Linked DNA regions of Homo sapiens: regions 2, 3, 4, 5, 6 and 7 are each linked to region 1. The links are contacts of gene promoters, found by promoter capture Hi-C in blood cells and fetal thymus (Javierre and others, 2016). All regions are on one chromosome and are shown on one strand. Each heading gives the region's core, a stretch centred on a gene start or on the middle of the fragment in contact. The rest is flanking DNA. Distances are from core to core; before and after follow the strand shown. Region 1 holds the start of SNX14 (sorting nexin 14). Region 2 overlaps RIPPLY2-CYB5R4 (RIPPLY2-CYB5R4 readthrough). Region 3 overlaps RIPPLY2-CYB5R4 (RIPPLY2-CYB5R4 readthrough). Region 4 overlaps RIPPLY2-CYB5R4 (RIPPLY2-CYB5R4 readthrough). Region 5 overlaps ZNF292 (zinc finger protein 292). Region 6 has its middle 47 kb from the start of SMIM8. Region 7 has its middle 4.2 kb from the start of RIPPLY2.

The links. The method cuts DNA at HindIII sites, captures the fragments that hold promoters and counts their contacts. A CHiCAGO score of 5 or more calls a contact.
Region 2: a fragment that was not itself captured here is called in contact with the fragment with the promoter of SNX14 in region 1 in 14 of 17 cell types (naive CD8 T cells, non-activated CD4 T cells, total CD8 T cells and 11 more); the score reaches 29.2 in naive CD8 T cells.
Region 3: a fragment that was not itself captured here is called in contact with the fragment with the promoter of SNX14 in region 1 in 4 of 17 cell types (non-activated CD4 T cells, M0 macrophages, neutrophils and 1 more); the score reaches 7.6 in non-activated CD4 T cells.
Region 4: a fragment that was not itself captured here is called in contact with the fragment with the promoter of SNX14 in region 1 in 5 of 17 cell types (total CD4 T cells, monocytes, naive CD8 T cells and 2 more); the score reaches 8.9 in total CD4 T cells.
Region 5: a contact is called between a fragment that was not itself captured here and the fragment with the promoter of SNX14 in region 1, in 3 of 17 cell types (naive CD4 T cells, activated CD4 T cells and total B cells). The highest score is 6.8, in naive CD4 T cells.
Region 6: a contact is called between a fragment that was not itself captured here and the fragment with the promoter of SNX14 in region 1, in 1 of 17 cell types (total CD8 T cells). The highest score is 6.5, in total CD8 T cells.
Region 7: a contact is called between a fragment that was not itself captured here and the fragment with the promoter of SNX14 in region 1, in 2 of 17 cell types (total B cells and naive B cells). The highest score is 10.7, in total B cells.

The regions. Positions count from the first base shown.
Region 1 is chr6:85,592,541-85,595,962 of GRCh38, reverse strand. It overlaps SNX14 (sorting nexin 14), which reads left to right and starts at 2,105. Exons shown (of 29, transcript NM_153816.6): 1 at 2,105-2,384. The coding sequence starts at 2,245. RefSeq lists enhancers at 1,813-1,932, 2,243-2,412, 1,861-2,444, 2,445-3,028, 3,029-3,422 and a silencer at 1,963-2,182. The HindIII fragment of the contact is 2,215 bases long and covers 628-2,842 here.
Region 2 is chr6:83,865,101-83,868,305 of GRCh38, reverse strand. All of the region lies in intron 4 of RIPPLY2-CYB5R4 (RIPPLY2-CYB5R4 readthrough), which reads right to left. All of the region lies in intron 2 of CYB5R4 (cytochrome b5 reductase 4), which reads right to left. Among named protein-coding and RNA genes, the nearest start is that of CYB5R4, 7.0 kb to the right of the region's middle. The HindIII fragment of the contact is 7,321 bases long and covers 1-3,205 here.
Region 3 is chr6:83,915,085-83,918,302 of GRCh38, reverse strand. It overlaps RIPPLY2-CYB5R4 (RIPPLY2-CYB5R4 readthrough), which reads right to left. Exons shown (of 18, transcript NR_174604.1): 8 at 238-298. CYB5R4 (cytochrome b5 reductase 4) reads right to left here. Exons shown (of 16, transcript NM_016230.4): 6 at 238-298. Among named protein-coding and RNA genes, the nearest start is that of CYB5R4, 57 kb to the right of the region's middle. The HindIII fragment of the contact is 5,635 bases long and covers 1-3,218 here.
Region 4 is chr6:83,890,788-83,893,905 of GRCh38, reverse strand. It overlaps RIPPLY2-CYB5R4 (RIPPLY2-CYB5R4 readthrough), which reads right to left. Exons shown (of 18, transcript NR_174604.1): 5 at 284-384. It overlaps CYB5R4 (cytochrome b5 reductase 4), which reads right to left. Exons shown (of 16, transcript NM_016230.4): 3 at 284-384. Among named protein-coding and RNA genes, the nearest start is that of CYB5R4, 33 kb to the right of the region's middle. The HindIII fragment of the contact is 6,192 bases long and covers 1-3,118 here.
Region 5 is chr6:87,251,365-87,254,517 of GRCh38, reverse strand. All of the region lies in intron 7 of ZNF292 (zinc finger protein 292), which reads right to left. Among named protein-coding and RNA genes, the nearest start is that of SMIM8, 70 kb to the left of the region's middle. The HindIII fragment of the contact is 2,114 bases long and covers 826-2,939 here.
Region 6 is chr6:87,274,595-87,277,574 of GRCh38, reverse strand. No RefSeq gene overlaps it. Among named protein-coding and RNA genes, the nearest start is that of SMIM8, 47 kb to the left of the region's middle. The HindIII fragment of the contact is 615 bases long and covers 991-1,605 here.
Region 7 is chr6:83,847,635-83,850,699 of GRCh38, reverse strand. No RefSeq gene overlaps it. Among named protein-coding and RNA genes, the nearest start is that of RIPPLY2, 4.2 kb to the left of the region's middle. The HindIII fragment of the contact is 5,957 bases long and covers 1-3,065 here.

The DNA.
Region 1 (3,422 bases), core at 856-3,355:
GGGTTCTAGACCATAGGCTAAAGACATGTAATGAAATAAAGGTTATTTCCTTAGATGAGGTCCGTAGTGACAGAAATTGAATTATGTTTCATGCTTTAGGTGTGGAAATTCTCTGCCATAAAGAATTTCCTTATGGCTGAAGTTTATTATATTTTTTTTCCTTTTCTAATCATAAGAGCAATTTGGAAATTTAAATTATCTATTGTCCAGTTAACTTATTCTAATTGCCTCTAAGAAATCAGATGGGAAAGAAGTCTTTTAATTGGATGTTGTAGTGATGTCTGTTTTGAACAGAACTCAAAACATTTTGTCTTTAAAATATACTGGCTCTTGGTGAAAAGAGTAATTTCAAAATAAGGCTTTAAAAGGAAGCAAAAGTTTTAAACAAAAGGCAACATAATTTACCAGGCAGGTTAATAACTTACATTATTTGTCATGAGATTAGTTTTTTAAAAGGTAATTTACAAAAGTGTAAAGCACTCAAGTCCATAGGAGGCACTTGATACATGTAGATCCACTCAACATACACCTATTTTAGTATTAACAGATAAAGATACTTAAAAACTGCCAAAGTGAAATTAATAAATGTTTAAATATGTACCTAGAAATATTAAAAAATGGTAAGCTTTCCAATGATGTTACACTGTAGTCTTTTAAATGGTTTAGTCACAAACAGAAAAGTGTATTTGTGATGTTTAGACAATAATAGCTAATCGTGAGGATCAGTGAAATTGTTTACTTTTATACACCACTGTGGAGTTGGTACCACCATTCTACAAAGCAGTTTGACTGTATCAAGAATGTTTGTTTTTACCCTTTGACCCAGTAATTGTATTAAAGTTGATTCTAAATAATTAGAAATGTGCATAGGTTTATCATCAAGGATGGTAATATCAATGGACTTTAGTGGTTAGCAATAATGGAACAGGATGGTACATTCTGATAAAGGATAATAATGCATCATTAAAGATCCATGTTTTTGTAATACGGGAAAATATTCATGAAACTACATACATCATTAAAAAACATTTGTTTCCCCACTTTGAAGGATAAGATCCTAGGAAAGAGAGATGACAGGCACAGGCTCTGTCTTTAGAACGTGTTCAAATTCCGGCTTTGTTAGTTTTATGATCCTAAGTTCCTTTCTGTCTCAGTAATTTGCCTGTATAATGATTGAAACTATAGTACTGTACCTACACCATGGGGTGAATGCATGAAGGTCAAATGAAAGTGCTTAGTGTCTGTACCGCCTAAGTAAATTTTCGCGATAATAGTCTTCCTGCATCTCTCACTGTAGCGGACAATACAGAAAAAAAAATTTAGAAATGTGATGAATTAGTAAAGGGAAAACCCCATGAGACTCTATAAGAGGGATTTTACCTAATCTGCCAACCTGCCTCTTCCAAGCACTCGGATTTTGGTTGGGCTCCCGGAGCCGGCGTGAATTGAGCTCTACCCTTGCCCGTGAGCGCGCAAAAGAGATTTTGTTGGTGGGGTGGCGGCCTGATGAGTTGTAGTCTTTATTCTAGGGCTGTTTTACTCGCCACCCCCCCAGCCCCCAACACACCCCTTTTAAAATACCGACTCAAAGGCGTCCTCCTATCCCCCTCTCCCTTAGGCGTCACGCAAAGCTCGGACCTGCTCCCACCCGGAGCCGAGTGTACGGTGAGGCGCGGAGCGTTGCGGGGTCGGGGAAGCGCTACCACCCGCTCCATCCCTCTGCGGGTTCGTGTCACGAAGACTACAGTTCCCAGCGGGCTCCACGAGCTCCGGTTGCCCCTCAGGCAGCGCCCGGCGGCTACGGGGGTGCTGTAGTTTCTTCCGGGCTCCCTACAACCTTCTTCCCTCTCCTCCGCAATACAGGCAGTTACTGGGTGCTGGGGCTGTCCTTTGATTTCCGGAAATGGCCGGTCGCCAGTGTTGTCAGAGTTTCCACGGAAGACTGCGCGCTACTCCGGCCAGGAGGGCGGAGCGGCGAGACGCTAGAGGCTTTGCGCTGGGTGACGACTTCGGGCACGTTCTACGGCCGTTCCTCTGGTCGGCTGGGGACCGCGGCCGCGCACGCGCGGCGGGGGGCGTGGGGCTGGGCCCAGCCGGACGCGACCTCAGCCTGCGGCGGCTAACTGCCGGTAGGCGTCTGTGTGCGCCGCCAAGTCGGTGGGGCGGGGACGCGAGGTGTGGATGGGGGGTCGCCTTGACCTCTGCCTCAGCCAGTAGCGCAGTCTCGGCCTCGCCGTTACGGAGATGGTGCCCTGGGTGCGGACGATGGGGCAGAAGCTGAAGCAGCGGCTGCGACTGGACGTGGGACGCGAGATCTGCCGCCAGTACCCGCTGTTCTGCTTCCTGCTGCTCTGTCTCAGCGCCGCCTCCCTGCTTCTTAACAGGTAACGCCGCAGCGCGGAGCCTGGGCGGCGGCTTTTCTCCGAAGGTGCAGACGCCCGGCCCGTGCTGCTTAACCGTGCGGAGGCCGCGTAGCTGCGGGACTGGGGACCAGTGGGGAGAGCGAGCTCCGCAGAGGAGCGGCCTCGGGGAGCACGGCGGAGCGTCGAGGCCGGAAGCACAGGCCGGTGGGGTGGGGTTGATTGCCTCCTTTCCCGAGGCTTCGTCTCCTGAGCTACCTTTTTCTCATCCATTTCTCAAAACGAGTTCTTCATCTTCGTTGCTTTTCAAAAGTGAAATCCGTGTGTCGGCTCAAATTGAGACTGTACACAGGCAGTCAAGTCAGCTGACGGAGGAGTGTTCAAGGTCCAGTTCGTAGCCGCAATTTTAGGCAGAATCCGCACACCTGCAGCGCGTTCTTCCATCTCCCCACCTCCCACCCCCTCAGCTTGCAGCTGAAGCTTTTCCCGCAGTATTGTTGAATAAAACAGACGATCATAAAGATTTGTTGGACAGAAATCAGAAAGCAAAGTGGTACCCGTCCCAACATCCTTAGAATTTTTTATTTTTGAGACGGAGTCTCGCTCTGTCACCCAGGCTGGAGTGCAGTGGTGCGGTCTCGGCTCACCGCAAGCTCCTCCTCCCGGGTTCACGCCATTCTCCTGCCTCAGCCTCCCGAGTAGCTGGGGCTACAGGCGCCCGCCACCACGCCACCACGCTACCACGCTAATTTTTTTGTATTTTTTTTTTTTTTTTTTAGTAGAGACGGGGTTTCACCGTTTTAGCCAGGATGGTCTCGATCTCCTGACCTCGTGAGCCGCCTGCCTCGGCCTCCCGAAGTGCTGGGATTACAGGCGTGAGCCACCGCACCCGGCCACATCCCTATAATATTCTTAAGAGGACTTGATGCCACCCTCCCCAAAAAAACCTGAAATATTCCGAAAGGTTAAAATTGATAAATTCAATTGACATTTTGAAATCAGAAGATTCTGCCCCCGAAATAAACTTGTTTTACTTCATTTTACTATTTCAAGAAATTGTTG
Region 2 (3,205 bases), core at 335-2,834, 1.7 Mb after region 1:
TATATTTTCTAAGATTTCCTGAAGAAACTGATTGTGTCTCCCACATTGTGATCAGTTGAATTCAGACCTAATCTAAAAATGGGGCAATTGTCACAAAATGAAGGAATTAGTACTTTAAAAAAGGGAAAAAAAAAAGGCACTATGATACCATGCTTCCCTGTGGCACAGTTTTGATGAAAACTTGGGTCCAAACACTATCTCTAACCTTCAAGACTAAAGTTGGCACACACATTCCCCCATTAAGAAGCTATCAGTAATATTTTAAATTAGAACAGCTGTGAAGAAAAAGGTAATTTTGTTTAGTCATGTTGTCAGGTTCTAACTGAGGTCTGAGGGGAGTGGGTGGGCAAGTGGAGGGTAGCTGGAAAAACACTTGAGGAATCGCAGACAGTTTCAACATGGCTTTACTCTCTCACTGGGTGTGAGCAAGCTGTATGTACAGCGTAAGCAGGGCAATTATACTTTTTACAGACAATAGTGACTCAGAGCCAAGCACGAGCTCACATGACATGGTTACATAATGTGCGAGGTTATGTGCCTGCGCTCCAAACCCGCTGAGTCATGCTGTGCATACAGGCCACCTCGGCCTACTCCTGACTAAAGCACAGCCATTTCCCTTACACATGTAATTTTAGTTTCATTGGGATCGTGCTAGAAGTTACCAGTAATCTGTTTGTCTCACATTCATCCTATTATTCCATGACCTTTGTCAACATCCTGGTTCACCTCCTGTTATCATCCGAACTTCTGTAAGAAGATAAATGCTTTCCTTACCCTATTTCAATTCACCACACCTACCACCAGATTAATCTTTCCAAGGCATACTCTTATAACACTGTCCCCACATTCAAATCCCTTCAAGAGTACACACTGCCATCTATATGAGGAACACATTTCCCAGTCTGGCTTTCAAGGTTGTCCACAATCTGACCTAACATACCTTTCCAGCCTTCCTTCTTATAATTCTCCAACAATTAACCTAAGCTCCAGAACACCTCAAACTTTCCTGTGTTTGTACCTTTGTTCAGGCCTTTCCTTCCACCTGAGTGCACTTCCTCATTTCCTATTGAAATCCTGTCTACTGCTTCAAGGCTTATCTCTACCACAAAAGCATCCCTGATTTTCCTAACTCATGTGTCTCCCTTCCAACAGTCTGATATCACTTACACTTTGTAGCCCTCTTAAGGTGCTTCACTCTGCCTGCTAACAATAATTTATCCTTCCTCCATCAGCAGGGTCTAAACTGAGTATTTCTTGATAAAATAAAAGACCAAACTCTGTAAAAAGATTTAAAAAAAGACACATCTTATTTCTACAAAGAGGGGAAAACATCTTACTATAGATAGAGTAGAACATGTTCCCCAGCAGAAACCTCTAAAAAATTCATGGCCAGGTATGGTGGCTCATGCCTGTAATCCCAGCACTTTGGGAGGCTGAGGCAGGAGGACTGCTTGAGACCTGGAATTCAAGACCAGCCTGGGCAACAGAGCAAGACCCTATCTCTAGAAAAATATAAAAAATAAATAGCTGGGCATGGTGGTGCACACTTGTCATCCTAGCTACTTAGGAGGGTGAGGCAGGAGGATTACTTGAGCTCAGGAGGTCAAGGATGCTGTGAGCCAAGATCAAGCCACTGCACTCCAGCCTAGGGGACAAAGCGAGATCCTGTCTCCTTTATAAAAAAAAAAAACAAACCATGATTAATTCAACCACCTTACCAGACGAGGTGCTATACATTCAAATCATTACAGAGGATATGGAACCGGGAGCAGTGTAGAGGTTAAGTATCCCAAATTCATAAATCTGAAATGCTCCAAAATCTGAAACTTTTTGAGCTCCAATATATTTAACAGAAACACTCAATGGAGCATTTTAAATTTCCGGTCTTTGGATTTGGGATGCTCAACCAGTAAGTATATAATGCAAATATTCCAAAATTTGAAAAAATCCCAAATTCAAAATACTTCTGATCCCAAGCATTTTGGATAAGGGATACTCAACCTGTATCACTTTTCAAACACAGCAATCCAGTCCCTTGTCCCCATCAATACATCATATGAATAATAAAGTCTAACTGTATTCTAATAATGCCTCAATTATCTAATATCACTAGGATATGAAGGGTTCACATAATCAAGTTTTCTAAAGTGGTTTCCTAGTGCAGAAACAGAACTCAGGCATGCCTGCAGCCTGGGCCAGCTGAAAGGTGTTCTTGGGAAATTAATCTTGACTTCACCCTATCTAGCAGAAAACACTCAGGCACAATGGGGAAGTCATTTTGTACCAGTTACTTGCAGCTGGTAAACAGATAGGGAGCATGAAGGAAGGATAAAGAGGGTGGCAAAAACCCTATAAAATGTCAAAAGGATCTTTTTGCACCTGCCAGAATCCTCATTCCAGATTGCTGGTACCATTCACATTTGTAGGTCTCTGAGGAACTTTGGGGAGCTGAACACCTGTTATGTCTCAATATAAACTACGTCATCACCTGCTGGAAGTTTCCATACCCTTTGCCACTGAAAATTTCACACTCTAATTGTGTCTGTTATGGGTGGAACTGTGTCCCCCTCCAAATTCATAGGTTGAAGTCCTAACCATCAGTAGCTCAGAATATGACCTTATTTGGATATAGGGTTGTTACAGATGCAAAATTAAATGAGGTCATACTGGAGTAGGGGAGGTCCCTAATCGAGTATGATTAGGGTCCATATAAAAACAGAAAATCTGACCACAGACAAGCACATAGGGAATATGCCACGTGAAGATGAAGTCAGATATTAGGGTAATGTTCTATAAGCCAAGGAACTCCAAAGATTGCCAGCAAACCACCAGAAGCTAGGTGAGAGGCATGGAACAAATTGTTACTCAGTCATCAGAAGGAACGAACCCTGCTGACACCCTAATCACAGACTTCTAGCCATCAAAACTATGAGACAAATTTCTGTTGTTTAAGCCATCTAGTTTGTGGTCCTTTGTTACGGCATCCATAGGAAATTAATACAGCATTTATTGGTGTTGATATCACCAATCCACTGTGAAAACCACCAGATACCTCTTTAAGTGACCATACTTCTTAAAAGTAAGTGTTACACTCATTGAACAAATACAAGTCAATGGCCTCTATGTGCCAGCCACTCAGGACAGAGCAGTAAGACCAACAATGTCCCTGCCCTCATATAGGTTATAGTGCAGTCAGGATAACTGA
Region 3 (3,218 bases), core at 595-3,094, 1.7 Mb after region 1:
GTTTTTTAAAGTATTGGTGTTTAAAATGGATCAAACTTCAGTTATATTTAAAATTCACATTTATGGAACAGCTCATTCTCCAACAACATCTAATAAATGAGGCATTACAGTTCTTGTGTCAAAGAGCATGACTAACAGTAAGCAATAAATCAAACCCAGAGCTACTTTATTTTTTAAATGTGTACATTTTTGTACATAATTGATTTAACTTTAAAAATTTTAAATAAGAATGCATACCTTGGATAACTAGGACCTTCTTTGGCAAGTGTATCTGTCACTTGGCTCTTGGGAAGCATGCCTTTACAAAGAAAGATAGCTATAGTTCATCTACAAAGTATTTTTAACTTTTTGTCTTTTAAGTTAACTTCTTAGTGAAATATCACATATATTCATAAAAGGATACAAATCACAAATGTACTACTCAATATATTTTCACTTGATCTTAGCCAAAAGGCCGTGATAAAGTGAAACATACATACCCTTGCAGTCAGCACTCTCTTCATGCCCCCTTTTCAATCACCACCCCTGCCTCAAGAGTAACATGTATTCTGACTACTAACACCATGGTTAGTATTTGCCTGTGTTTGAACTTTATATAAGTAGAATGATAACACATGTTCTCTTTTAGTCTGGCTTTTTGTCCAATATTCTAGACATTACAGTTCTTATGTGAAATAAGCATGATAAATAATAAGCAATAAATCAAATCTAGGCTTTCTGAAATTTTATCCATGCTACTGAATTCATCAGCTTGGTCCTTTTTGTAACTGAGCAGTATTACTTTATATGTATAGTTCACAATTTATTCATTCTCCTGTTGATGAACATTCAGGTTGTTTCCAGTTTGGAGTTATTATACACAGTGTTGATATAAATATTCTTTTACAGGTACATGCATATTCTTAAAGAACACATATCTACATTTTTGGTTAGTATGAAGGGTGTTTGTATGTTTAGCTTTAGAAGATACTACTGAATGGCTTTTCAAAGTGGTTGTACCAATTTACACTTTTTACCACAGTAAAAAGTGTTTGAAAGTTCCAGCTGCTCCACAACCTCACCAACATGTGGTCTTCTGTCTTTTCCCATTTTACTCACTCTTGTGGGTATGCATTCTTGTGGGTATGTACACCCACAAAATGCATCTTGGGTGTATGATGCATTTTAAAAGCCCACTAATGCTATGGTTTTTAAATGACTTCAGAAAACTCTGAGGCATGGAAGAACTCAAGATATTGCAAACATTAAGTGTTTCCCCCCTACAATAGAAGTGCATTGTTTGTATATGGTAAGATTTAGTTTGGAAAAAAGAAGTACTGCTGCTACATGACTTTTGAAAATCATTGCATCAATTATATTACTATTTTTCAAACTATACAGGAACAAAAATTAATGGTTAGTATCTGCTGAGTCTTGGGTGCCCAAATTAGAAATCAAAGTATTTGATATAAATTTAAGAGTTGCAAGACACCTTTGGGACAAGACAGTTTAGAGGTTTTCAAGATTCTTTTTAGACACAAACGTTTTGTTTCAAGACAAGCTCAAGTGCAAGTAAGATGTAAAACAGTCATATTTTTCTGAATGGGCTGATGGTGAGCCCTGAGTCCAGGCCTTACTCATTCAGCTTCCATTTCTTCCCACATAACTCTGCAGAACACTATTTTCAAATAAACAAAGGAAGCCTCAGAGATGTGACAACAAGGTCAGAGTTGTGAACTAATAATTAGCAGTGGGCACTAAAAGAAGAGTGCTCTACTACAAAACTACACGTAAAACAAGAGAGGACTACAAGAATTAAATGTATTTTTTCTAATATGGTAAAAGCAAGACAAAATAATCTTATTAAATTAAGAAGCACTGAAAGATTTCAGAGATTAATGTTGTTTCTCTTTTGGAAGTCTCTTAAGTATATAAATAAAAATCAAATGCATCAAAATCTAAGAATTTCTGTAAGAAAACGCTATAAACAGAATTGATAAATTGTAAGTCAACATTGATCTTGTATGACCTAATTAGGACCAGAAAATCTATACTTAAGCTCGGTGCCAGTACTGTGATTTTATGCAAGCCACTGTTTCCTCTTCCTCAAATTGGAACTATTAATAGCAATGAAATGGTCCCTGCAATCTCATGGGTGAGCAAATGAGACAATAATCAAACATTCTAAAAAACTATTTAGTATAATTAAGATATATCTTATTAAAACAGAATAATAAGCCATGGAATATATCTTAATTTAAAACTAACTAAAAACAAAAAAAACCCTCAAACTTTACATAATATTATTTTGAGTAAGTTGAAAGAATACGGGGTGAATGTGTAGTGAAAAAAAATAATTAAGTAATGCAAGGTGGACTGAATGCATGTTCTCCCTTCCATAAGTATTGGTTGATTGAATGTCGTCAATTTGAAGGGATCGGGTCTCTAGTGGAATAGGAAAGTAGTCCAACCCATTCAGTATTTTAAGCAGCTATTGGAATAGTAACATAGAATGCAGGCAGATCACATTTGCAAATACAGAGACATACCACATAGACTTAAATGAGCCAAAAGGGAAAAGCAGCTAATAAATATATAGATAGACAGATATGTTCCAATCTTACAGGGTCCAGGTCACAAGAGGTAACAGTGCTAACCAAATCACTTGTGGAGTGCTATATTCCATACTTAATGCCACCTTTTACTGAGAAATTAGTCAAATGCAGTGCATCCAAAGAAGGCAACAGAAAAGTACAGGTTCTGGAAGCCACATGTGGTGGAAAGAAAATGCCTAGTCTATCGGTAATCAATCATTAAGCAATGGTTGCTTTTGTAGTGCCACAGAAGAGTCAATCATCAGACGAAACCAAAGATCAGTCCCTCATTTAATAGAGTGTTATATTATCCGATGAACAACTACAGGTACTATAAATTGCATAAATTAGTCCACAATATAGACTATTTCAGTTAACAAAGAAAAAGGTAACTCATCTGGCAATCTAGCTTGTTAGTTGCATTTCTGTAACTTGCTTTTGCAAATGAAAGAAAAAAATGTTTCTAAATGTACATCAATATAGTTCAGTCAGAGTTAGCACCATGCATTTTATGTCAGTAGTGACCACCATGCCAAACTTTTTTGCGGGGGAGAGGAAGTGTCAGTCATTATTTGCAAGTCATCCAGAATGGCTGGATGCACCACTCAGCTTAAAAAATTGTAGATTAATAAACTATTTGGCATG
Region 4 (3,118 bases), core at 83-2,582, 1.7 Mb after region 1:
ATCAAAACTAATCAAGACTGAATAAACACTTACCAACAAAGGAGGCAGCGAACACTTAAAAGAAGACCCCTAGTCGCAGATTTGAAACATCTCTAAAATTTTAATAACTCAAAGGGCAAATTAAATGAACAGCTGCTACTTGTGAGCATCTTCCCACACTTCAAAATTCAAGCCAATGCATCTGGAATTTATGCAACTATTTCCTTTCTTTCTACAAATGTCACACTGATAAATCTGAGTACTCTTCCACCGGAATACTTTGGTTACTTTCAGCACATCTTACCTGATCAAAAAGTTCAGTACCATCTGATCCTGCTGCTCTCATTAGTTCATCTTCTCCACCAGGATGATACTCCATATAAGGGCTGACATTATAAACGAAACCTGTACCAAAGCAAACAGAAATAATATCCTAAATGAACTTCTCAAAAATTGTAAAACTTATAAATATAAGTTTCAATAAATCTTTCCAAATACATTCCATTTAATTAATCACTGTTATTTCAAAGTATCAAGAACTAACTGTAAAGGATCTGAGATTTCATCACACTTGCAAGCAAACAACTTAACCTGCCACTTTCATGGGTCCTGGCAGATAACAAGAGACTCCTAGGTCAGAGACAAAGAAGAGTTTAGCACTCACATCAATAGCAGTAGTCAGAATATAAACATTTGTGTCAGTTCACTGAACTCTAATTCACTAGAGTGCTATGTGAAGAGGGCCAGGTAACACCTGTACACTTAATGCGCTGCATTACAGAAGAGGAACTCTGAGCTCAGGAAACTGGAATCTTTTATAAGCATGCCTGCCCTTGCTCCTGAGGGAGATATTTATTATACAGAAGAGTAAGCAAAGCTGTCCTTTCTTCTAGAGGGAGACACTAACATTCAAGGTTGTTCACAATGCAAATATCCTTTAAAAGACTGTACAAAAAGACAGTGCCTCTACTCTCAAGACATGCAAAAATGCAAAAGAAAATTGTCTCCCAACACAAAGAAATGAAATACTGTGTATATAATTTTTGAAAGTACACACACGCACACAGAGAGAGAGAGAGAGAGAGGAAGAGAGAGAGAGAAAGTGACTACTACAGACATAACATTTCCATATTGCCCTGGTAGAAGAATCTGATGAAAAAAGAATCAAGCTCTAATCCACGTCTCTGATCATCTCAGCAAAGGTTAAGCAATGGTGACCACTTAGGCACGCTCTGTGAAAAGGAAGCCCAACTATTCTCAAAGATTATTATTCAGAATTTAATCATTTTGTCTTCTCCAAATATTTCTTTCATCTATTCAACTGTTATTTATTTTTATCTTTTAAGAAAGGAATAGGGAACAACAAACACAAAATATCTCAATGCACAGCTCTCCCAAGGAAGTAAGTTGCTTTTTCATTCTTGAAAACTAGATAGATACCAGACAAATCTAGCCCTAAAGACATCACGAAAGTGCAATAACAACGACTGGTTTTTTTTAAATATCCAGGACTATTTCCTCTTTATATGATGACTTCCATGAATTTAAATAACCTCAGATAACTTAAAATGTTCATCCTATATAATAATCTTGGAAGAAAAGAAGAGGTTGGATTTCAGACCCAAGAAAAGTACTGCAGTTTTTTGACCAGCTATATATTAGAAAATAACCAACCAGTCCAGCTTTATAAAGTCTCTTAAAGGTAAGCACAAAAGGAAGTAAATTCACAGAATTTCTTTCAGCAGCATTCCAAATAAGTCTGAACAAAACTAGTTAAGTTCCCTCTTTTTTCCTTCCCCATATGCCTAGAGTCCCACAAGATTTAGAAGAATTTTTTCCCATTGTTTAATGCTCCAAAATCCAGAGACCAAAAACGTGAGTGGTAATGATTAGGATCAGAATTACTCCCAATAGGCTTTTTTAAGACAGAGGATGCCTCCCAAACAAGAGTTCCAAACTTTCTCTACAATCAAGTCCTGACTGGAGTTCTACAGTTTCTCAAGAACAAGAAATCTACAACCCATGATCATTTGTGATGGAATTCCACGAGTTTCAGCAACCAGCTCTTCTGGTAGCTTAAATAGCTATCCATGATGAGCACATAAAGCCTAAAACATTCCATACATGTTCTCTGCTAACCTGCTAGCCCTTTACATTGACCCTTATACTGTCACAATCTTATCTTTCTTTCTGATAGGGGCTAGGATCACTCCGTGGACGTGAGTAGTATCCCATGCTTTCCAGACGAAAAAAACTAGGAATGTCTATCCCTTACCACAAGGAATTAACACTGTTAAATAGTGTCTCAGTCCAAGATGCTTTAGATCAAAAAGCACTTGGCTGTGTTAGTAATTTGCTAATTATGAAACTTAAACCTAGCCCCAAAACAGAACAGGTGCATTTCTTCTGATTCAGAGGCTCTTCTTTGCTCTTTCTCTCCTTCCTTATCTCCCTTTTTTTCCTTCTCAAAAGTATTTCTGAACAACTAAAAACTTGGACCCCTGGATGTGGCAGAGAAATACAAACATAAAAAAACAAACTTTATGCTTTTTCTTCGTGCTTTATTATACAGGTGTACCTCAGAGATATTGCAGGTTTGGTTCCAGACCACTGCAGTAAAGCAAATAAAGCAAGTCACACTAATGTTTTGGTTTCCCAGTGCATATGAAAGTTATGTTTAGGCCAGGCATGGCGGCTTATGCCTGTAATCCCAGTAGCTTGGGAGGCCGAGGCAGGAGGATTGCTTCATGCTAGGAGTTCAAGACCAGTCTGGGCAACATAGTGAGATCCTGTCTCTACAAAAAAACCCTAAAAATTAGCCAGGCATGGTGGAGTGTGCCTGTAGTCCCCCTGCTACTTGGGAGGCTGAGGTGGGCGGATCGCTTGAACACAGAAGTTTGAGGCTGCAGTGAGCCATGATCATGCCACTGCACTCCAGCCAGAAAAAACAGTGAGGCCCTGTCTCTAAAATAAATAACAGTTATGTTTACGCTATATTGTTGTCTATTAAGTGTGCAATAACATTATGTCTAAGACAATAATGTACATACCTTTATTAAATATACTTTCATAAAAATGCTAATATCATCTGAGCCTTAACTGAGTTAAACGTTTTGCTGGTGAAGTGTCTTGCCTTGAT
Region 5 (3,153 bases), core at 633-3,132, 1.7 Mb before region 1:
TAAAGCACTGCAGCTTAGTCTGGTATGTGTGTATGTAAAATGAACTGCATAGAAGGGCAGAAAATGTTTAAGTATTAGAAGCTAAGACTTTGGTATGGAATTATTTAATGGCTAGGCAAACTTGGAAGTTATTTGACTTTTCTGACCTTTCCCATCCCACTTATAAAACAGAGGTCAAAACAGCACTTAAACTTCATTAAACTGCTGTATTAAAGGAGATTAAATATGTGTTATAGTTTAGTATAATGTCTGGCACATAGTAAATGATCAATAAATGTCATCCTTATTGTAACTCTTACTTCCTGTTTGCATAAGCAATCTAACTGAAACAAAACCCTTCTAATCTAATTATAAAACTGAGAACATCCCCATATTTCCAAACTGATCAGTACTGAAAGAAATAGTTTGCTTCTATAAAATAAGGTACTAATCCCTAATAGTGGAGATTCTAGTGCTATCATAAAACCAAATGTCAAATTACCTACCTCATGGCTGGACCAGCTTAAGAATTAGGAGTAGGGGTAGACATAGCCCAACAAACTTTTTCTTTTGAATTAGCATCTTGAACTATTATTATTAGATAGCAATAACAAAGGTAAGTCATTTGAAAGACACATGGAGTAAAGAGATAAAAATGGGTTTTAAAGACCAGAAGGGAACAATGATAAATGAGAAATAAGATAGCCACAGGATGTGGCCACATTCACTGGAATAAAATATGTACGATACAGGATCAAAAGGCAACAAAGAAAATAAGTAGAGAGAACTGATAGGGCCTCTATTTTCATTAAGTTAAGAAGAAAATATTTTACTAAATCAGAAGCTTAAACTTGTAGGGCAAAAGTATTTTAGTATTTTTACTAAAAAGGAAAAGGAGCCTGGGATACTGAATTGGTCTTGATTTTAGAAACAGCAAGAGCACAATGACCAAAAAGAAAATGAATAGAAAGAAAAGTATGAAGAGACGTATTTTTAAAATGATAGGTTAGGCTGGGTGCGGTGGCTCATGCTTATAATCCAAGCACTTTGGAAGGCCGAGGCAGGAGGATCGCTTGATCTCAGGAGTTCGAGACCAACCTGGGCAACATAGGGAAACCCCCATCTCTATAAAAAGTACAAAAATTAGCCAGGTGTGGTGGTATGCAGCTGTAGTCCCAGCTACCTGTGGGGCTGAGGAAGGAGGATCGCTTGAACCTGGAAGGCTGAGGCTGCAGTGAGCAGAGATCGCACCACTGCAACAATCCAGCCTGCATGACAAAAGTGAGACCCTGTCTCAAAAAAAAAAAAAAAAAAAAAAGGCTGGGCATGGTGGCTCATGGTTTATGCGTGTAATCCCAGTGCTTTGGGAAGGCAAGGTGGGAGGGACTGATTGAGGCCAAGAGTTTGACACCAGCCTAGGCAATACAGAAAGACCTCATCTCTATCAAAAAAAAAAGAAAAAAAATTAGCTGGGCATGGTGGCATGTGCCTGTAATCCTAGCTACAAAGAAAGCTGAGGCAGGAGGATTGCTTGAAATTGGGAATTCGAGGCTGCAGTAAGCTAGGATTGCACACTGCACTCCAGCCTGGGCAACAGAGCAAGACCCTGTCTCTTAAAAATAATAATAAAAAAATAAAAAATGACAGGGAAGATGAAAACTGGGAAGGAAGTGGGACCATATGGGTGTCTCTTGATTTCATATAAACTTGTATATGTTATACTATTCCTAGATAGATCTGTGCCTTAAAACTTGTACAGTAAAACATCTGCATCTCTGTTACATGCCTTAAGGGGCTGCTAATGGTGAACAATTAGGCCACTCCTCTATTACGATATGCAAGAAAGAAAAAAATCACCTGTGGTCTGTGAAGCTGCATACTACACACAGAAAGACACAAAGAAAGAAGTCTGGGAGGAATTAAGGGCCAAGTAAACCATAAAGATGATTAAAAGTAATACTGAAGGCACATATAATAATGTCAGAAGAACTGGTACAAGTTCTTACTGGTGAAAGTTCTGAGAAGCAGTGTGATTATTCAGAAATTCAGGAAATGATGGAGAAATTTTAAAAAAGGATTAAGAGAGGCCTGGTGTGGTGGCTCACGCCTGTTAATCCCTGCACTTTGGGAGGCTGAGGCAGGTGGATCATGTGAGGTCAGAAGTTTGAGACCAGCCTGGCCAACATGATGAAACCCAGTCTCTACCAAAAATACAAAAAATTAGCCAGGCGTGGTGGCGGGCACCTGTAATCCCAGCTACTGAGGAGGCTAAGGCAGGAGAATCACTTGAACACGGGAGGCAGAGGTTGCAGTGAGCCGAGACTGCACCACTGCACTCCAGCCTGGGCAACGAGAGCAAAACAACGTCTCAAAAAAAACACAAAAAACAAAAAAAAAACAAACAACAAACAGAAAGGATTCAGAGAATGAAGGATTTCTGGATGAAGGGTATCTGTCTTGCAGAATATAACTATTTTATATCATATGAATATTGAGCCTTTTCTCCAGGAATGGCAAAAGCTGATTAAAGAATTCTACTTATTGCTCACAAGACACATCTAAAATTATTTAAAAGGGGAATTCCACTGACATTCTATTCTAATCCAGTCTGCAACTAAATTCAAAGGTTCATTTTGATTCATTAAGGGTGAGGAGCCTCAATAAATTTGCTTTAAAAACATTTTCATGTTATAATTAAACCTGAAACCTTTACATTAATGACAATGAAACAAAAGAAACTATATTTTACAATTTTTTTTCCTTCTGACCTTTCATGTGTGTACTTGAAAATAAGTGAACAGGCAATATTCAAATCATAAACTGGCTATACAGCAGGTAAGTTTTAAAAGTTGAATTAAAATTCACAACAATTTTCTATAAAGACAATGTAATTAAGTGATTTGCCCATAAAAATCTATTTAATTCATAACAGTTAATCACAAATACTAATAGCACAAGCTTAAATTGATGAGTCACAGGAACAGAAAGCTAAGTGACATTAATTCAGAGGAGGAACAGAAACTCAATCCCTTTCCAGGAAAAGAACAGCACCAGGTAAGTTCTGGAAAACAGAAAGGTTTGTCTTTTGTACCCTCTTCCCATTGCCTTTTCTGTTCTTTCCCTCTGGCTGCCTAGTATCCTTGACCTAAAGCCACCCAAGGCTTGCATGTTGCT
Region 6 (2,980 bases), core at 49-2,548, 1.7 Mb before region 1:
TTTTTCCATTATGAAGGCTGGTCTATTAATCCTAAAATGGACCAATAGCTAAAGTGTCATAGTCATCTCCCAATAAAAAAAACCTGTACTTTAATAACTGTTTAAGTACCCCAAAATATAAATGACTACCACATATTAGCCCATGTCCCCTTTAAAATATAAATAAAAAATGGGAAGGTAATTTCTGGTTCAATTTTCAGACCTTAACTGTACATACTCCTTTCCAGTGTTAGTTTGCCATCTTGTGGCCTCTTAATCCTGTGCAATTCAGTAACTGAGCAACATGTATGTTAAGTTAGCCTATGAAACTGACAAGCTTTATACACTCATCACACACCTCCACTTTTAAACTTACTTCATATGGAGCCATGTAAGTTACTGTACTTCCAATTTCACTCCAGACCCAACTCCAGCTACAAGTGAAGCAAATCACCTAAAAAAAATATTCTGAGAAAAGTGCTCAAAGAACATCTGAATATTTATTGATTATGCATACACGTTTGCTGAAAAGGAGTGTATGTAACTTTGATGAAGCCAATATGAATATGGCCTCTGATAAAGAAGAGAAAGCAAGGTAGTAACAGGATTTGAATGTAAATTTTGCCAAATGGTGACATGGTCTTTCTCACTACCCTGACAGGATTATAAAATCTACCACAATGTTTGCTTTGTTGAAGGTGTGTGTATATAGTGTGTACATACACACACACACACACACACACGCTATTGACTACTATATAAATTTTCCTTCAAGCAGTATCTAGGATTGTTAACCTGACTCAGCAAGAACACACTGGTCCCTTGGAATAGTCAGATGGTGATAACACAAATAAGACTGAGTTACCTCCAGTGGTAGCTAATTCCTTTCTTAGTTATGAGAAATGAATTGCCATACAAAGAGCTCAGAACAGTTGCTGACACATGATTGTTTATTAAATATTACCTATTGTTCTATCTAGAGCCAGTCCTCAGCCTTGGGCTTCCCAAGCTTCTCTTCCAGGATCTTTGAGCTCGGCACTTTGTAACTGAGGGCCCAATTCTGTGTATGAGACTTGAAAACTCTAAGAGAGCGTGTCTGCCCTTTGCTTCAATGTTGTATTTCCAAGGAAAGCTGCCTAGAGGTTATAGCTTGGTCAGTAAAAAGAAAAAGAAAAAAAAATGTAGCTAGGCCACAGGAATGCTGGGTTCCAGATTATAGTTTTAAAATCAAAATTCAGTTTTTCTCTCATTGTCAGGGATATCAGCTTAGAGAAAGGCAGTCCGAACAACACATACCTAAAGCTCAAGGATTACACAGAGCCAACCAGCCTCTATTTTGTGCTGCTAAGAGCACATCATGATCAGAGCATTCTAGGTTTCTGGTCTTTTCACTTCTGGCAGAGCAGATGTTCTCTTTCATACGGTCCTCAAGATTTTGTTGAAATAAACTAGAATTACTTGTTTCTCATTTTATAGTGATAAGACTTTTTAAACTGAAGACATTAATGTATGACATAACTTCTAATTTTGCCTTATTTACTGAAATGAGAAGTGTATTGCACTACTTCCTGTATTTACAATGAAAACCTAAAAACTTTCCCTATATATTTCTGACAATCTCAAGCTTCATTCTTCTGCCTTGAAATAAATGGCAATACACTCATCAGCCAGGACAATGGAGAACATTCTGAACTAGGGGCCAGAGACCTATTTCATAGGTTTGCTGTTAAAAGTCTTTAAATTTTCCCATGTGACTGTCTTTATAAAATGGGGTTGCTAATTTTCCTCTTCTTATGGGGCAGGGGTGGTTGTGAGGATCAAATTTTAAACTGCATAAATGAACACCCAACTGCCATACTTGATTAGAAATTCTCCTTTAAGAGTACACATGCTTGAGAGAAAATTTTGTACTGCTGCAGCTGAGGTTTTAAAATCTTCAAATAAGTAAATCTAATGAGCCGATCAGTTTTAATAGGGTTGGAAGTAGCAAACAAGGATTGCCAAGAATGACTTAAGTATTTGGATAATGTAAAAGTGTACTGAAAAAACATAAACAAGACTGATTCTCTGTATATCCTTCTCCCATCCAAATCTTAAGTGTCAAGGAGTTGGTTAACATCTTAAAGGCGGCCGGGTGCGGTGGCTCAGGCCTGTAATCCCAACACTTTGGGAGGCCGAGGTGGGCGGATCACGAGGTCAGATTGAGACCATCCTGGCTAACATGGTGAAACCACGTCTCTACTAAAAATACAAGAAATTAGCCAGGTGTGGTGGCAGGCACCTGTAGTCCCAGCTACTCGGGAGGCTGAGGCAGGAGAATGGTGTGAACTCGGGAGGTGGAATTTGCAGTGAGCCGAGATAGCGCCACCGCACTCCAGCCTGGGTGACAGAGCAAGACTCCGTCTCAAAACAAGAAACAAAAAAAGAAAACATGTTAAAGCCTCTGTATAAAAGAAGCAAATCTGACTTGGCAAGAAGGGGGCATTCCTCTTGAGAGGATGACTCACAGACATCTCCAGTGAAGAACTGCCTGGTGTGATCTGCTCCTGAATAGTTTGAAACACACTTGTGTCCTCAAAAGCCCAGTGGCTTCTTGAACACCTCACTGCTACAGAGGGACCTAGGGACATGAGGGCCATCATCATCGTGTCCACTTCTTTTCTCCAACTTACGCAGGGGAAGAGGAGGATCCAGGAGACCTATGGGTGGTAGCACTAAAGACAGTGTAAGTGCAGCTTGCACAGTGAACATTCTTTTGCCATGTTCATAGCTATTCTGGGGAACAAAAAGAACCTGGTAGCAAACAAAACCTCTGACTACAAGTTTCTATTATAACCCTCCCAATTCACACTGACTAGAGAATTCTACTCTAGTCAGAGTCCATTAAATTCCTGCACAATTGCTTCTCATTTCCATTTCTCTCTTGGTTTCTCTGGTTTAAGAGTACACACTGCAGTGCAGACCTCTTGTAGACAGCCCCTTTGTTCTGTGCTCCCTACCT
Region 7 (3,065 bases), core at 329-2,828, 1.7 Mb after region 1:
GAACCTGAGGAACTACTTGAGTCATAAAATGTAGGAGGACTTGAAAGTGGAGTCTGGATATATTCCCAGGTTTCTAGCCCGATTAAGTGAGTAAATGGTGATGGCTCAAACACAGACATAGAAAACAGGGAGCATAGGATAAAGAGCAGGTGAGATCCTCTTATGTTGTTTTATTCTGTTAATGATGTGCAGGAAAAAAATAATGAGTTTGGTTTTGAATCTTAAATCAGTCAGGATGGGCTGGGCTATTTGGTGGTAACAAATAATGCAAAAATCTCACAGGCTTGAAATAGCAAGGGCTTATTTTTCACTCATGCCCTACATCCATTTTTGGTTGGTGTGAGGTCGGCTCTACATCATCTTCACTTAAGGATGTAAGCTGATGGAGCCTCTTCCCGCTGGAATGTACAAGGAGAAAAGAATAAAATTATTTGCCTACCAGGTTTCAGAGGCTTCTGCCTAGAAGGGACACACATTTCACTGGCTAAAACAAGTCACATGACACACCAATTTCAAAAAGCAAGGAAGTGCAATTCTACCATGTGTTCAGAAAGTGGAGAAACAGAAATAAACAACATATAAGAGTGCCATAATCTGCCCTTCTGGCTACTAAATATTCAGTTTGTCTTCCTTCCTACATGTAAAATACAGTCACCCCAAGGAAAAGAACTCAGAATAGATCTGAGACTTTGGAAGGCTCAGTAACATGTAGGTGGAGAAGATATTCAGGGGACAACCAGAGACATGAGGTCTGGAGTTTAGTAGATAATTTAAGGCTAAAGATTTAAATGTGAGAGTCATCAGCAAAAAAAAAAATGGCGATTAAAACAATAGGAATTGATTCGTTTTCCCAGGGAAATTTTGTAGCTTGAGTCCAGGACCAAGGACAGTAGCCTAGAGATCAACATTTGATTGTAAGGTGAGAGGATATGCAAAATAAAACAAACAAACAAACAAACAAACAAAAAAATCCATCTCACTGAAAAGGAGTGGTGAAGCTGGTAGAAAGTGCATCAGTAGGCCAGGCACAGTGTATCACTCCTGTAATCCTCGCACTTTAGGACACCAAGGTGGGAGGATTGCTTGAGCTCAGGAGTTCAAGACCAACCTGGGCAACATAATGAGAGCTCATCTCCACAAAACAAAATTAAAAAAATTAGCCAGGCATGGTGGTTCATGCCTGTAGTCCAAGCTACTCAGGGAGCTGAGGCCAGAGGATCACTTGAGCCTGGGAAGTTGGGGCTGCAGTGGGGTGACAAAACAAGACTGGAAGGAAAGAAAGAGAGAAAGAGAGAGAGAGAAGGAAGGAGGGAAGGAAGGAGGAGAGAAAGAGAGGAGAAAGAGGAGAAAGAGAGAAAAGAGGAAAGGAGGAGGAGGAGAAGAAGAAGAAGAGGAAGAAGAAGAGGAAGAGGAAGAAGAGGAAGAAGAAAAGAAGAAGAGGAAGAAGAGGAATAAGAAGAAGAGAAAGAGAGTGTTTCAGTAAAGCAAGGTGCGAAAGTGCTTTAGTAAAGCAGGTGTGGTGGAAACATGGGATGAAAGAACTCCAATAAGGCAGAAGAGGTCCAACGCAGTCAGGGCTACCAAGAGGTCACATAAGATAAGGACAAGTGTTAATTGGATTTGGCAATATAACCGCTTTAAGGGGTTATAAGTGAATTTAGAACAATATCGTTTGACTGTATAGGGACAGAACCTTTTTTTTTTTTTTTTTTTTTTTTTTACAGCAAGTTGAGTTGTAGATTAGAGGTGAAGAAGAAATCAAAACAGTGAGTTGAGCTACTCTTTTGAGAGGAAAAATAGAGGGAGAGTGCTGGGTCCATAAAGGGATCTTGGTTTTAGGGTGCAGACAAAAGTATGTTTAGAAAATGAGGAGAGGAGGCAGGAGAGGAGATGCTTCTGAAGAGACAGGGGCTGGATGATGGTTCATGGTCCCCAAAGAGGAAGGAAAAAATGAGATCAATAGCCCTGAAGAAAATCCTCATAAGAATGGAGTGTGTGAATCAGTGACGACAATAATCCAGGTCTGGGAACTCCCAGGAAACAAGTTTAATTAAGGTGACTAGTTCTGGCATGGAGAAGGAGGGATCTACTGTAGTGATGAGACTTGAATCTGAGAAAATATCGGTTGTCTTAAAATTGTGAAAAGAAATGCATTACTAGAAAAAAAGGAGAACCAATTAATAAAAATATGGCAAGATTTTTACTTGACCAAATTTAAGTAAACTGAGAAACAGAAATATGAATTATTAGAAAGATCCTAAACCTACCATTTATACGTTAATTTAATGTATGCTACCTATTTATACAGATCTTGAAGATGATTTTCATGAGGCCAAGATCAATATGCTATTTTTCTTTTAGTTTTTTTTTTTTTGCATGTTTATCATTTCCATCAAAGATGGAATTTCTTAGCTAAATCATTAAGGAGGATATTAACTATAAGCTGTGCCTAAAGAAGAGAAAACCAGTACAATTTTCAGGGACATTATATTTATTTTAGAACATAGATATGTACTTCTTATCCAAGCTGTATGCAATATGAGGACGTAAAGCTCTATAAAATAAATATAAAGAGATACAGAATCATAAAATAACATAATCTGAGGTATAACTTAACTCATTTTACAGTTTAAATTTACTTTAGAATTGTATACTGAGTTCCACTTGTACATTTTTAAAATGTATTTTATGTTAACATATCAACACACTTTTCATAACACACCAATGAGGTGGATCAAACTTAATAGTCCATTAGGACAAGCATTTTTTAAAACTTCATTTATTTAACAAGTACTATTGAATACCTACTATGTGCCAGGCACGATTTTAGGATCTTGGGATATGTTAAATGCACAAAACTGACAAAATTCTTATATTTTTGTGTAGCTGCCTTCTAACAGACATCTGTGCCACCAAACTTTGTATTTTACTAAGAGAAAATATTATAAATTTACCTTATACCTGGGGCTTGCGGGCCTAACACTCTTTTTTTATTTTTATTTTTTAATTTATTATTTATTTATTTATTTATTTTTTAATCTTTGGCTCTTTGCATTACTATAAGA